2 separate regions of the Homo sapiens genome follow, and region 1 is linked to region 2. Evidence: promoter capture Hi-C in human tissues and cell types (Jung and others, 2019). All regions are on one chromosome and are shown on one strand. The core of a region is centred on a gene start or on the middle of the fragment in contact, and the rest is flanking DNA. Distances in the headings are between cores, read along the strand shown.

Evidence for each region. Contacts are between HindIII fragments. The study calls those that stand out against the background at their distance.
Region 1: a fragment that was not itself captured here is called in contact with the fragment with the promoter of KBTBD3 in region 2 in 1 of the 25 tissues and cell types used here (dorsolateral prefrontal cortex).

What each region holds. Positions count from the first base shown.
Region 1 is chr11:104,612,440-104,617,806 of GRCh38, reverse strand. No RefSeq gene overlaps it. Among named protein-coding and RNA genes, the nearest start is that of LINC02552, 5.8 kb to the right of the region's middle. The HindIII fragment of the contact is 8,478 bases long and covers 1-5,367 here.
Region 2 is chr11:106,075,837-106,080,688 of GRCh38, reverse strand. KBTBD3 (kelch repeat and BTB domain containing 3) reads left to right here and starts at 3,342. Exons shown (of 4, transcript NM_198439.3): 1 at 3,342-3,377; 2 at 3,982-4,182. It overlaps AASDHPPT (aminoadipate-semialdehyde dehydrogenase-phosphopantetheinyl transferase), which reads right to left and starts at 3,027. Exons shown (of 6, transcript NM_015423.3): 1 at 2,796-3,027; 2 at 997-1,222. The coding sequence starts at 2,978. RefSeq lists enhancers at 2,760-2,999, 3,310-3,419, 3,430-3,549. The HindIII fragment of the contact is 12,921 bases long and covers 678-4,852 here.

The sequences.
Region 1 (5,367 bases), core at 255-2,754, 1.5 Mb after region 2:
CCTGAGGAATACCCTTTTCAATATTTTTCAGCCTTTAGCCAGTTTTCAATGTCATAAAATATTATGTGAGCTGGCAGCTATGGCATGAATGGAGATTTCACAAGACTGGCTTGTGTATGATGGTCTAACTGGGGGTTAAGACAGGGAACACAACTAGAAGATAATGAGGATGGAAGAAAATAAGAAGGGCCAAGATTTGTCTTTTGGTCACATTTTTCTGATATGGGAAGCGGGCAGCGAAGTGCTGGTAGAGAAGTGTGGGGTCTTTGGTGAGGACTCCACCCTTGAGCCTATGCCCATAGAGCTAAGTGAGGACAGACATTTCTGTTTTCGTACCCAGAAGGTTGCCTTTTGGCCTACTACACCCCCGATCCTGTGCCCATTTAAACCAGAGACTTTAAGCAGGCACAGACACAAGCAGCTGAGCAATGAGAGGAGCAGAGGAACAGAGCAGTGGAGAGCAGTGAAGAGTGTGGCAGGGTGGCATGGCAGAGAAAGAGAAGAGAGGTATATACCCAGTAATGGGATTGCTAGGTCAAATGGTTATTTCTGGTTCTAGGTCCTTGAGGAATTGCCACACTGTCTTCCACAATGGTTGAACTAATTTACACTCCCACCAACAGTGTAAAAGAGTTCCTATTTCTCCAAATCCTCTCCAGCATCTGTTGTTTCTTGACTTTTTAATGATTGCCTTTCTATCTGGTGTGAGATGGTATCTCATTGTGGTTTTGATTTGCATTTCTCTAATGACCAGTGATGATGAGCTTTTTTCCTATGTTTGTTGGATGCATAAATGTCTTCTTTTGAGAAGTGTCTGTTCATATCCTTCACTCACTTTTTGATGGGGTTGCTTGTTTTTATCTTGTAAATTTAAGTTTCTCATAGATTCTGGATATTAGCCCTTTGTCAGACGGATAGATTGCAAAAATTTTCTACCATTCTGTATGTTGCTTGTTCACTCTGATGATAGTTTCTTTTGCTGTGCAGAAGTTCTTTAGTTTAATTAGACCCCATTTGTCAATTTTGGCTTTTGTTGCCATTGCTTTTGGTGTTTTAGTCATGAAGTCTTTGCCCATGCCTATGTCTTGAATGGTATTGCCTAGGTTTTCTTCTAGAGCTTTTATAGTTTTAGGTCTTAGGTTTAAGTCTTTAAAGTCTTTAATCCATCTTGAGTTAATTTTTGTATAAGGTGTGAGGAAGGGGTCCAGTTTCAGTTTTCTGCATATGGCTAGCCAGTTTAAGGATTATAAATCATGCTACTGTGAAGACACATGCACATGTATGTTTATTGCAGTACTATTCACAATAGCAAAGACTTGGAACCAACCCAAATGCCCATGAATGATAGACTGGATAAAGAAAATGTGGCACATATACACCATGGAATATTATGCAGCCATAAAAATGGATGAGTTCATGTCCTTTTCAGGGACATGGATGAAGCTAGAAACCATCATTCTTAGCAAACTAACACAGGAACAGAAAACCAAACACCACATGTTCTCACTCATAAATGGGAGTTAAACAGTGATAACATATGAACACAGGGAGGGGAACATCACACAATGGGGCCTGTTGGGGGGTGGGGGGCTAGAGGAGGGATAGCATTAGGAGAAATATCTAATGTAGATGATGGGTTGATAGGTGCAGCAAACCACCACGGCATATGTATACCTATGTAACAAATCTTCACATTGTGCCAATGTATCCCAGAACTTAAAGTGTAATTAAAACACACACAGAAAGAAAGAAAGAAAGAAAGAAAGAAAGAAAGAAAGAAAGAAAGAAAGAAAGAAAGAAAGAAAAGAAAAGAAAAGAAAAGAAAAGAAAAGAAAAGAAAAGAAAAGAAAAGAAAAGAAAAGAAAGAGGAGGAAGGACTTATGGACGCTGAGGAGAGTTCAGCCAAGGGTGGTCGGAGAAGACTTCGGTCGCTGGGCAGCCCTACTTCAGGGGAAGATCACCTTGTCACTCCATCCTCATCTTCAGCTCCCCATCCATCTCACTGAGAGCCACCTGCACCACTCAATAAACCTTGCACTCATCCTTGCAGCCCACATGTGCTCTGATTCTTCCAGTACACTGGGCAAGAACCCAGGTTGTCACACTTGGCCCCCTTTCTTCAGATAAGGCAGAGGGTCTAATTAAGTTGATTAACACAAGCCATCTGCAGACGGCAAAGCCGAAAGCACACTGTAACATATGCCCACTTGGGCTTTAAGAGTTGTAAACACTCACCCCTATAAGCTGCTGTGGGGCCAGAGCCCCAAAATGCTCCTCATGATCTATGCACCTGCCCGTCTGCATGCTCACCCTAGGGGTTTGAGCATCTGGGCATGGAAGAAGCCAGCCACACCCAGGTCACACGCCCTGCCAGGGGGATAAGGGAACTTCTCTCATTTCAATTTCACATTTCTCAAAATTTAGCCTATGCTACGCTTCCACCCTGTATTTGCCTTCCTTCTCAACACTTAATTTCTTTTTTCCCTGCCCCTTTGACTCCAATACTAATTTGCAGTGCACTTCAACCTGGAGCAATGACACAAGATTTTACATTTGGAGTAATATACTAATAGAGCAGCAGTGAAGATGTGGCAGAAGCCAAGGAGGCTTATCTTCATGTTAGGGACACAATATGTGGAGCCGTTATATCCAGATAAGTAAATTCACCCATTCCACATGAGTAGAGTCACTATCTTAGAAGAGTGGCTAATCTGGCTTCCTGCAACCCTCTAATATCTACTTTTTCTTCTATCAAAACAACTAGAAATGCAATGATATAGAAGTTTCCAAATTTACTATAGAAACAACCTCCTTGCCAGTTCCTAATGCTTTGGCTCTCCCTTCCATTTCCATTGTGCTAAACTAGAATCATGTTAAACAAACAAGAAAGCTTCTTTATCAGAGTACAAAGATTAAAAAAGTCAACAACTTAATAAGTGTAAATAAATTTTACCATGTTTTTCAGAAAGAAATGCTCAGGCATTAAAAAGTTTGAATCTTACAAAATTAGTTGTGAATCAGGTACTAATTAATATATGATTAGACATTTTGAGACCCAAAATCAAATGAGAGCTTGGCTATCTTACCCTGAGAGAGAAGAAATCACTGAAAGGCAAATCTAGATAAAAGTCTTTGAGCAAGAACAAATGTCTCTGAGTGAGAGGTCACTCTGAGGATCCCCTAAAAGCACAAGGAATACCTTATGGGAGTTCCTAAAGGGCCAGATATTGGTATAACTGCTTCACAAAGCTGTCATTGAACCTAGTTCAGATATGGCCTGACTGCAGATATTGTACAAATGCAGTCATGCAAAAGACTCACAAAACCTTTGGTTTTCTTCTCAAACAGTCATTTTTGAAATAAATCCCAAGAAGTCAACTCCAACATGATTTCTAGGGAAGAAACTAAGCAGCTTCAGTTTTCACACTTTGTTTTCAGTTTCCAGTTGCATATTCTAACCTGTTGAGGAGTTTCATTTCTACTAAACACTATGTATTATAGATATATGTATACAGATATAATACACATACTCTATATACCCATAGTGTGTAATATATGAGTGTGTCTATATATTATATATATGTGTGTGTGTATATATATATATATAAAATATATATTTTTTTCTTTCTCGGATACTTTGCAAAATACTGACTCTCTATATATAGTATATAAGGTATATATATATATATATGGGGTCAATATTTTGCAAAGTATCTGAGAAAGAAAAATTATTTCACAAATTTTCTTATTAGTATATTCCTGGAAATTTTAATGGACCCTCATTCTGTTTTTTATACTTGAAGTAATAGATCAACTCTCCTGAGTGACATCACAATGTGAACATGAGTACTTAACAGCTACACAAAAAGAAGAAACATAAATCTGTAATAACAAGCTACAAATGCCCTTTCTATATTAGTTGAGTATTTTAAGCTCCCTTTATAGATAAGATGAGCTTCCAGTTTCACATCTGATTCTTCATTCAGGTGAGTTTTTCACCTTTCTTACTGGTGTCAGAGTGAAAGCTTTTATTCATTGTGCATTTTTCCCCCTCCTTACACAGTTTCAAAAGAGTTAAAATTTTAGGAGCTATAGAAAATGTATGGGCACTTAAACAAGACAGTGCATAAGCTAAATCCAAGTTACACCAATTTCTGACATGCAGTATATGTTAATTTATTGAGCCGTAGGCTTATATCTATGTAAAGGAAAGAATAACATCTACCAAACAAGTTTAATGTAAGAACGTAATGAATAACATATGCAAAGAATATCATTGATACCTAATAAGTATTCAATACAAGCTGTTATTGTCACAGATTTACATGTATTAAATCATCTGAGTTTTTTCTACATAAAATTGTTGAGATTTTACTTGATGAATGGGTAAAGAAAGAAAAATGTTAAATTATATATTTATTTTTTAACCAAATATTAGTTGAGCATTATACCCAGTTGTGCCATATCCTAGATAAAATGAATAAACCATGTCATCTAACAGCTCAAAGCTAAGTAGGGAAGACAGAAACACAAACATAATTACAACAGACTCTGAAAAGTGTACAAATTAGTATATGCATGAAGTATACTTGTGACTGATATAAGGGGTTTCAGTTAAGTATTCACAGAAAGAATACTTGGCCAACTCTTAAAGAATGAGTAGAAGTTCTTTACATATAACTTAAATATAAAACTACCTCAACCTTAAGTACTACAGAATACATAAACGAGTGCTCTAACAGTGAACAGACTCAAAAAACTTGATATGACCTTGTTTATAAGACTAGATCACTTTATTGATGAACTTAATAGCTCCTTACATATATCCCTTTTTGCTGAACCTGCATTAGGAATATTGAAATGCATTCTCTCTCTTTGTTCAGCCTCCTTGAACTTATCCACTCTATATATGTATAGAATCAAGAAAACAGCTGGGAATTTTTCCCTGGAGTTGCTTTCTTTTCAGCATTTATTATTTTCCTTCCTTTAAATAATATCCCATCTGCTTTTGGGAAACTACTAGTTTCGCATTATTGGTTATGCAATTTTGATGGTACTGCCTAGGGTTTATTCGCACAGCTCACACTCTTGGCCACAGTGATTGGGGTCAAAGAAAGGTTCTAACACGTTGATTATTTATTGGATGAGTTCACTAATCAATGGATGTATGCAGGCTTCAGCCAATAGGCACATTATATTTTCCTGGCCATCAGGATTGCTACAGATATTGACCAGTAATTTAGTCCAGCCCCAGAGGTGTGATCCTTAGAACAATTGTTAGGCCTGTGAGACAACAGCCTCCCTGAAGTGGGTGGTAGAAGAATGTAAAGGTTGCTGCTTGCTGCTGCTCTTGTACATCCGTTGAGA
Region 2 (4,852 bases), core at 2,093-4,592:
TACTTATTTTCTTTAAAAATAGCAGTATATGCATCATAGGGTAGTTGAGAGAATTAAATCACAGAATATGTCTAAAGCACTATGTAAAATGCCATGACACGTGGTTAAGTGTTCATTAAATGTTAGTGATGATGACAAATATACAGCAGTTAAGAGAACCTGTATTTAGTATGTATTAAATTGCCTGGGTACATTCAACTTCACCACAAATGTTAGTGGTCCTTAAAGCCACCACTAACAAATTTCTAAGGCAATATATAAGCAACTTAAATATTTTAATAATGCTTGCTCCTCATTTTTACTTACATAAATGGGCTAAAAAGAGATGTATTTAGATGCAGAACAAAGAGTCGCCCGTTGGTATCCACTGGGGACTGGTTCCAGGACCCTCCTCAGATACCAAAATCTGCGCATGCGGCCCTATGGAACCTGCATATATGAAGTCAGCCCTCCACATCCTCAGGTTTCATATCCTGCAAATACTGAATCTTGATACACGTTTGATTGTGGATGCAGAATCTATGGGGACAGAGGGCCAACTACTGAAAAAAATTCACATGAGTAGACCCATGCAGTTCAAACTTGTGTTGTTCATGTGTCAACTGTATACGTTATCTCTACATAAGGACTACAATGTACTTTACTATTCAGATTCTTTTTTAAAAAACAAACAATTAACTGAAAAATTGTGGTTAATGTTTAAGTGAAATAAATTGAAGTATAATTCAAAAAAAATTTCACTTAATATTTCACTTTACCTCTAGGCAAAGTTATGGATCCCCAGTAACGGATAATCTATTATTTATGTGTAAGTCTGTAAATATTCATGGAAATATACCCTTTTCAGATTTATGCTCTCCATTACCTTTGTGTACTAAGCACATTTTCCCTAAACTGAAATATCTCTAATACATCTCCTGGCCTGAGATTACTCAATAGCAATAGAACTGAGGCATCGAGACACTTAACTGCCATACTAGAAAAATGCAACGTTACCTGGAAAACTAGTCTTCATTATATCAATTCCAACTTGCAGCTCAGGTTCAGCAGCAAGCACTGCATAGTCTCCTTGATGAGAGATGTTAAAGTTGAAATTCGGGTAAGGATTCGATGAGTCCTTTGCAAGAACTGGTTTTCCTTTTGCAGTTCTTTGCAAACGAATATGATTCCAAGGGATATTCAATTTCTCTGCAACTAATTTCCTTATCATCAGACGACCAGCCTGTTAAGTACATAAAACATTTGGTATGTACTGATGTCTACTAAAGATACAAGCACACTGTATGCAATAGTACTTTTTTTTGGTTTCTAAAATTTTCATTTTTAAAACTTTTCAAAATACTTAAGTATTAAACACACGTTAATTAAGACTTAAGCAATGCTTAAGTAGATAAAAAGTTAAAGCCCGCCTTAGCAATTCCCTCTCCTTTGCTAGTGACCAAAGTTAACAGCTGGCATCCTGTCAGTCTTTTCTGTATTTAAATATATGTGCATTTACATGTTTTTGCTAACTCTACATATAAACACAAACATGAGATTATACTTATGCAGTATTCTACCACATATAAGCTTTAAATTTATAAGTATTGGGAAGTATTTTATGTCTGTACACACACGTCTGGTCCATGCAGTTTTAACTGTAGCATATTTCATAATATTATTTCCCCTTTATTGGACATTTTAGGCTGGCTCTAGACTTGCTGTCAAAAACAACTCTGCAGTGAGCAACCCTACTGTACCTACATCTGTGCATATGTATTTCTAGATCCCATATATTGATCACCCAGCTTCAACAATTAGCAAGGCATGACCTATCTTGTTCTGCTCTCTCCCACCTCCAATTATTATTTTTTAAATAATTACTAAAAACACACACACAAAAAAACAAGAATATAAGATGACAAAGTATATATTTTTAAAAATATCTTTCAGGTTTTTTTCTTCTTCAATTCTAACACTGACTTTTAAAAACTGCAGGCTTTTAAATGTAGCTTATTTTACAATTCCTTACAAATGAGTAAAAAATTTTCACCAATGTGCCTTAAAAATTATCAACTAGTCTACATTTCAAACAGAAAGTGTTTCAATATGGGACATTTTTAAGAAAGGACTGTCTTTTAAATGATGGTAATTCACGGTTGTTTCAAATTGCACCATATTGTACAGATTACTTGTTTTGAAATCCAGTTTTCCATTTGTTGCTTCAAAATACATAGCTAAAATAAATAAATCTACGTAAAATACTGTTTCCCATGGCATCTAGTGAGGAAGGTATCCTCTCTGGCTTCAATTTCATTGGCTTCAATCCCGGGGAGCGCAGGGCTACAAACTAAATCATACTGTCAATAATTTCTAGGGCCTACCACGTGCAGGGAGTCCTTGGAGAATGATGGGATATTTAACAGGCAGAATAAGCATAGGCTATGAACGCACACAAACAAAAAAAAATAACATTTAAAGATAAAGACATAAAAACATTCATTACAGAAAAACCCAATTTTGTCGGCCTTCCCTACACTTATTTCATGGTTTAGGAGGGTCTCCATTTGAAATAACAAGGGGAAAGAGATAATGTTTACAGCCATCGCGGCCTCCAAGGCGGTTACAAAGGCCGTGGAAACCAGGCCGTGCGTCGCCCACAACTCCGCAGCGCCGGCTGCTGTCGCCCGGGCCGGCCACAGGCTCCACAGCGAGAGGGTCGCGGCCAGCGCGGGAGTGTCGGGTCTCCACAGCCCGGCCCGCCTCCCCCAAGATCTGCTTCCTAGGCTCTAAATACCAAAAAAGACCTGTAGTACCATGGCTGCCTTAGCGTCCCGGGCAAAGACGAACTGGCCAATGCGCTCCTTCTCCTCGGGCTGAATCGATCGCACTGCCAGCAGCCATTCGGCTCGGCTCGGCAGCCAAGTGCCGCAGGAAAAGGCCCAGCGCACGCCCTCCATGGATGGCACCAAGCAGAACCGTTTGGCAGGGAAAACCATACACTGAAAGCGGACCTCGCCGCTATCTCGGGCCTGATGGCGCGGACGCAAACGTGGCCCCACCCCCTTCTTCCCGGCGTCCGTGCGCAGGGGACGGGCCGTCGCTACGCAGACTGGCCCACCGACAGCCCTCCCAGCCCGCCCCCGACTCAGCCACCTCCTCTCGGAGAAAGCAGCTGGGGGCGGAGACGGAGATCAGCCCTGCGCTTTGCGGCATTGTATGACGTCAAGTAGGCGAGGCTTCGGAGGCGAGCGAAGGGCGGGACCAAGGCCAAGAGCCCGACAGTTACGCCACTCACACTTGCGGAAGAGTTAACGGGACAGCGGTGCAGGCCAATCGCAACCAGTCCTCTGGAGGCAGGGAGACTGGGGTGGAGACTTCGGAGACTGCAGTTGCAGGTGGGTGAGCTCCGGGGTCTGAGGGAGGAGTGGGATGGTAGCCCTTATTCTCAGGGTCTGAGTTGGCCCCTGTGACCCACAGAGAAGAGAATGTCCTTGGCTTCAGCTGCTTCGTGTACGGGGCACGAGAGGTTTCCATCTCTAGGAGGGGGTCTGCAGTGGTGCCCCCTGCAGTTGTGCAACGCATCAGCCCTGAGTTCCTTCTTTCCCTGCCCCCATCCGCATCAGCCTAAGACCCACCCTCACACAGTACGCTCCCGACCCTTAGCAGCAGCCTACCTGAAACCCTCCCTCCGAAGGCCGAGCAGAGGCACTATCCCCAGTGCGCAACACTGACCCCGCCTGGATCCGAGGCTGCCAGCGAGCAGCTGAGCTAATGCTGGCTGTTTATTTGGGGCGATGAAGCGACCCAGGTGCTGTTTTGCTATTGCCAAGCCTGGGCTAGAGCACTAGCGAGAAAACAGGATTCCATTGTTGAGGTATCAGTGTTTCCATCATGACAGAGGTCCTTGCTCTAACAGCAACAGAAACAAGTAAATAACTTTGCTCAGTTATTTTCTCAGACTTTGCGAAGGGTCATATTGATGTATGTCTGTTTCCTTAGTTGTTCCGTGTAGGCTGTTGTTGACTCTCGTATGAAAGCCCACGCGATCCAAGTGCCCTGCAGGTTTTGGTCCAGGGAAAAGTTGGTCTCTGCAGATGACTGTAAATGACTACCTGGAGGTCGATTAAAGTGCGGTACTGCGGGATTCAGCCGATTTCCTTCTTCCTCTGACTGCCCGGAAATATCAGCCAAAGGCCAGCGGTAGTAATTAACACAATTACCTGCCTATGATTTCTGTCCTATTTAAGATGGGTTCTATTATGTTTTTATCTATACTTGTCTTCATTAACTTTTCGTGATATCATAAGCCCCCCGAATCCCTCGAAAGTAGATGGGATTCTGAGCACACACACACACAAATTCAGATCCCCAAAGGACAGTAAAACGAATTATTGGCTTAATATATCATCTTAGCTAACCAAAAGCCTGTGTCAGCTGCCATGTTGAAAATCTGCTTACCAGCTGCAGGGAGCTTACAATCTGGTAAGGCAAATAAATCATACGCATAAAAAGTACAATAAGAGACAGTGTAAAGATACGTAAGTGATACTAATACCCATATCAGCAATGATCATAACTCACTTCTCCATTTTTAACTAAGAATCATATAACCTTTCCTTCTTGTCGTTTTAAACTGATTTTTATAACTTTGATACATTACGTTTCTGTTTCCAAAACACTTCTGTGTACGTTATTGCACATGTTCTGTGCACTAGTTATTACTGATGGAGACAATGAGCTCAGAAAGAGAATTTGTTTAAATTCAGGAATTCATATCCCATTATTTTACCATCGAGCAAGATCTCTGTGTATTAGATCTATGGAGCCTAATACACAGACAGTAACGTAGGGATTATTTGTACTTGGTCTA